Regions from separate parts of the Homo sapiens genome. Here region 1 is linked to region 2. The links are contacts of gene promoters, found by promoter capture Hi-C in human tissues and cell types (Jung and others, 2019). All regions are on one chromosome and are shown on one strand. Each heading gives the region's core, a stretch centred on a gene start or on the middle of the fragment in contact. The rest is flanking DNA. Distances are from core to core; before and after follow the strand shown. Region 1 has its middle 16 kb from the start of LINC01120. Region 2 holds the start of TUBA3D (tubulin alpha 3d).

Region 1 (2,700 bases), core at 126-2,625, 57 kb before region 2:
GGCTACAGAGTGAGACTCTGTCTCAAAAAAAACAAAAAACAAAAAACTGCCCTTCTTTTTCACTCAGGGACAGGTTCCCCCAACAGGAAACACCCTCAAGCTAGTACAAGTCCAGGGGTTTTGTTGTAAGAATAGAATAATTTTATAGGTATCCAAGGAAAGAAACCAAAAGTATGGTCAGTCTGCATTTGTTTAGAACTGGAAAGTAAAAGCTAAGACTATTTCTGTAGGTTCTCATGTATCTTAAAAGGAGGCAAGGCAGAGAAGATCTATTGGCAGCTCTGCTATTAATTCTTCAGTTTCTCTAGTTAACCAGTTACATTATTATTAAGTAATAATAATAATTATTAAGTGTGATTATTATTGTGATTTATATTATTATTAAGTGGGATTATTATTAAGTGTGAGTCATTAAAAAATAGAGGAGGTTGCATAGGCATTTCCGGCAGTTAAGAAATCAATCATCTATCCATCCATCCATTTAGCTATATACTTTGAGATGCTCAAATCACTCATTTTCCCAGCTGCCAGCAGTGTTGGAAGTGCTGAGAATGTTGTTAGCTGATGGCTCACAGATGAAGGGAGGCAGCTTGCCCAAGGTGGTCACCAGTTCCAACTTTAAATGTATAACAAATATGGGGAGGGAGAAACAATCTTAGGGGTTGAAAGTCAGCATTTCCATACACCGATGGTCCAAGCATTCTGGGGCATAATTGACAACATGATGAATAATTTTCCTTGCTGAGCATACTCCTTGGCCCAACAATGCTATTTAAACCAACTTATCCCAAGGCACTAATGAAGGATGTGCACAGATGTTTGGCTATTGAGATGTTTATTCAGTGTGGTCAGTGAAGAAATAAACTAAGTATCCAAGAGCAAAGGGTTTGTTGAGTAATGCCTACTATGGAATATAACACAGCTGTTAGAAATGAGGTGGTATCCACCTTCTTGACATGAAAACTGATCTCAATAAGGACCGAGTGAAGGAGGCAGGTTAGGAAACACATGTATAGTAGGCTCCTAATTTTATTTGTTCAAATCATTTTAGAAGTGCGTAAGAAACACTTGGAGAATTATATGTCAAAATACTAACAGTGATTACCTCTGTGTAGTGGTGAGTGGGATTAGATAGGATTTTAATTCCTCTTGACATTGTGCGTTTATTGAATGCTTTATAGAGAATACATGCTTACTGTGTTAGCAAAAGGCCAATATATATATTTTTTTGAGATGGAGTTTCGCTTGTGTTGCCCAGGCTGGAGTGCAATGGCATGATCTCAGCTCACTGCAACCTCCGCCTCCCGGGTTCAAGTGATTCTCCTGCCTCAGCTCTCCAAGTAGCTGGGATTACAGGTACCCACCACCACACCCGGCTAATTTTGTATTTTTGGTAGAGACGGGGTTTCTCCATGTTGGTCAGGCTGGTCTCGAACTCCTGACCTCAGGTGAGCTGCCTGCCTCGGCCTCCCAAAGTGCTGCGATTACAGGTGTGAGCCACCGCGCCTGGCTGGCTATTCTTATACTTGAGAGTTGGCCGACTAATTAGTACCTGAGTCCTAATGGGACAAAGTCACTTTCTGGTGCTGCTCAAAACGGTGTTGACAAGAAGAATCATGATCATGAAATGAAAGAATGTCTACCATGGCAGGGTAACCAGGAAACAGGAATCCAGACACTTCTGTCTCTCTTTTATTTATTTTTCTTTGTTATTATTTTAGTTTTTAGAGTTTCTGGCTAAAAACAGAGCAGAAATCTTTGTAAAACACACACACACATATACACACAAACACATTATAATTTTCCATATGCTACTTCTCTAGATTTTTCAAAAATCCCCTCTCATCACAAAAATCCTTCTGCAGACCGTAAACACATGAAGATCTTTTAAACATTCATTCCACTGGCTTTCCTCCTTAGAAGCATTATATTTTCCATCACATTTTAAAACACTAACATTGTAACAACAGAATTCAAACAGAAATAAAACATATTGTAAAAAGATAGGTGTTTTGTTTGAAATAATGGTGTTTATTTTACAATGCATATAATTAGGTCAAATTGTAAAAAGCATTTTTTTCCCCACACAAGAGATTTCATAAAGTATGCACACAGGTTATCCAGAATGCAGTAAGCCTTTTCCACCAGTTTTAATGCACCTTTTGTACCAAAGGGCAAACCTATCACTATGGCTTGTGGTGGCTTAGAAAGAAAAACAAGCATAGTATTAAGAGAAATGCTGCAAGATGTGTCTATGAAGAGTACTACAGTGAGTTGTTAGGGCAAGGGGCACGTGGTCTTAACACAGGCTGTCCCAGGAAATGCCCGGCCTCATCCTCTGAGGAGGTCTCCGTTTTGGAAAACAGCTCACGTTCTTTTCGGGTTTGTTCATTCCTGGATACTCCTAGTTTTACTGCGTGGGAGCGGGCGGCTTTCCCTTTGGTTTTAGGGGATTACTACGTCTGGTGCACCCTGCTGTTTTCTTCTTGTCCCGAATTGTTCTCTGCTGTTCCTGCAGCCTCCCTTCCCACTGCTGGAAAGCAATTTGTCAGCATGACTACCAAATCATCTCACCCTTTATGCTGTTCAGCTAATGTGAGAATTAAAGCAAGTTTTTTGCTGTAATATACTAATATCGACAACAATTGTAACAGCTACCCTATGTCAAGCACTTATCATGTACCAGGTGACTTGGAAAGT
Region 2 (2,700 bases), core at 45-2,544:
TCTCTAATTTCAAATTCTTGGTAAACAACTTAGGAACTGCCTCTTCTTTTCCTTTATAAAACCCACTTATAACTGCTGCCAATATATTAAGACAACTTGCATCTCCAGGGTTGCACTTCTCAAACTTGGCCCAAATAAACTCTATTTTTTTTTCAAGATGGAGTTTCGCTCTGTCGCCCAGGCTTGAGTGCAGTGGCGTGATCTCAGCTCACTGCAACCTCTGCCTCCCAGGTTCAAGGGATTCTCCTGCCTCAGCCTCCTGAGTAGCTGGGATTACAGGCATGCGCCACCGTGCCTTGCTAATTTTATTTTATTTTTTTGTATTTTTTGTAAAAACGGGCAAGGTGGGTCTCACCACGTTGCCCAGGCTGGTCTTGAACTCCTGACCTGAAGCAGTCCTCCTGCCATGGCCTCCCAAAGCATTGGAATTACAGGCATGAGCTGGTGTGCCTGACCCAACGTCTCCACTTACGTTAATTTTGCCTCCTTTCTTCCTTTTTTTTTTTTTTTTTTTTTTTTTTGAAACGGAGTATGGCTCTGTTGCCCAGGCTGGAGTGTGCAGTGGCCCAATCTCGGCTCACTGCAACAACTGCCTCCCAGTTTCAAGCGATTCTCCTACCTCAGCCTCCCGTGTAGCTGGGATTACAGGTGCCTACCACCAGCCAGGGTAATTTTTGTATTTTTAGTAGAGACGGGTTTTCACCATATTGGCCAGGCTGGTCTTGGGAACTCTTGACCTCAGGTGATCCACCCGCCTCGGCCTCCCAAAGTGCTGGGATTGCGGGCGTTAGCCATCGCGCCCGGCCCGTTTTCTCCTTTTGGGTCACAAAAGTGATTGAATCCTGCCACTTCCCAGGTGCTGGGTGGGAACAGGGAAGAGGGGGATAATTGCGGTGCTGCTGTGACTTGGGTAGATGGCGGCAAGGCCTCTCAGAGGTGGCCTTGTTTGCAAAGATCTGAATTAGGCAGGGAGAGGGGCAGGCCTGGGGCAATCAGGGAGGGGCAGTGGCACACTGGGAGCAAGGCAATGTTCCGCGACCCACAGAGGCAGCGCAGTAGCTGTTCCAACCCTGGTCAGAAGACACCCCGGAAATGCCTCAGCAACCGCGCAGCCTTTGATGACCCCCGCTGCCTTCCCGCCAATCCTACATCCAATCAGAGAGCGTCCCCAGTACACATGTTGAGCAATGGCCAATCAGAACTGGGATCCGGCCCTCAGCCCGCCTCCCAGGAACTCCGAGCCAATGGCGGCCTGGCACCGGCGGGCCAATCCCGTGCGGCGCGCACAGGCAGGAGGTTGCAGTTGGGCGCTCAGCAGCTGTGGCAGCCGGTTGAGGTCTGGCAGTAGCGTTGGGCTGAAGCAGCGGAGTTCGCCATGGTAAGGCCCGGGTCACTCCCGCCCCGCAGATGCCCAGGCAGACGAAGTTGGCCTCGGGTGGACAGAGGGACGTTGTTGCGGGCCTGGGCGCTGAGAGGAGGCCAGAGAAGGACGCAGGGTCTAGTGCGGGACAGGAGGACACGGGATCGTTTCCTGGATCTTTGGGTCCCAGGGCAGGGACGGCGGCTTTTGTTTTAGATGAAGCTGCCGGCCTTTAGTGAACGGGACCATTGACGGTGTCCCGTCCCCCAGAGAGCAAATAGTGGCGTCGCCTCCTGAAGACGGGAGGGCGCTGCTCCCGCTTCACACGTCTTTGTGCTACTCGAAACAACTGAGGAGCCCCAGGAGCCTTCGGTGACGGGGGTTGGGGCTGTGGACATTGATCAGATGAGGAATTAAGGCTCAGACGCTGCTGCAACATTGCCTTGTTCACCTAAAGGCAACCGTTAGGCCAGGCGCGGCGGCTCACGCCTGGAATCCCAGCCCTTGGGGAGGTGGAGGCGGGCGGATCACCTGATGTCTGGAGTTCAAGATCAGCCCGACCAACATGGCGAAACCCAGTCTCTACAAAAAAATACAAAAATTACCCGGGCATGGTGATGCGAGTCTGTGGTTCCAGCTACTCGGGAGGCTGAGGTGGGAGGATCAGCCGAGCCTGGAACTTTGAGGCTGCAGTGAGTCGTGATGGCGCCAGTGCACTCCAGCCTGGGCCACAGAGACCCTGCCTCAAAGACACAAACAAAAAAAGCAGCCCATTAACATAACAGATTCCCAAGTCCCAAGTCTGAATAGCTGTGGTTTGTCAGTTATCCTTTTTTTCCTTTCTTTTTCTTTCTTTTTTTTTTTTGAGACAGCACTCAACAAATGCTGTGTTGCCCAGGCTGGAGCACAGTTGCAGGATCACGGCTCCCTGCAGCCTTGAACCCCTGGCTTCCAGCAGCCCTCCCACCTCAGCCTTCCGAGTAGCTGGTACTACAGGTGTGTGCCACCACACCTGGCTAATTTGTAGATTTTTCATAGGGACAGGGACTCACTATGTTACCCAGGCTGGTCTCAAACTGGTCCCAAGTGATCCTCTCACCTCAGCCTTCTAAAGTGCTGGGATTATAGGAATGAGCCACCACACCCAGCTTGGCAGGGTTTAAAGAAACCACCAAAGGACAGTGCAGTGTCCCAGCACTAATGACGTCTGGGAGCCATTACAGGCTTCAAGGGGTAGAGAGAGGGAGTGGTTACAAGAAATTGGGAGGGTAGTTTTATGAAGAGGGCAGCCTGCCAAAAGTGTGGCCTTGAGAGGGATTCAGGTCACCCACAGCAGTTGA

Evidence for each region. The method cuts DNA at HindIII sites, captures the fragments that hold promoters and counts their contacts. A contact is called where the count stands out against the background at its distance.
Region 1: a contact is called between a fragment that was not itself captured here and the fragment with the promoter of TUBA3D in region 2, in 1 of the 25 tissues and cell types used here (adrenal gland).

The regions. Positions count from the first base shown.
Region 1 is chr2:131,417,247-131,419,946 of GRCh38, forward strand. No RefSeq gene overlaps it. Among named protein-coding and RNA genes, the nearest start is that of LINC01120, 16 kb to the left of the region's middle. The HindIII fragment of the contact is 3,797 bases long and covers 1-2,700 here.
Region 2 is chr2:131,474,825-131,477,524 of GRCh38, forward strand. TUBA3D (tubulin alpha 3d) reads left to right here and starts at 1,295. Exons shown (of 5, transcript NM_080386.4): 1 at 1,295-1,378. The coding sequence starts at 1,376. It also overlaps a transcript of MZT2A not described here. The HindIII fragment of the contact is 16,461 bases long and covers 1-2,700 here.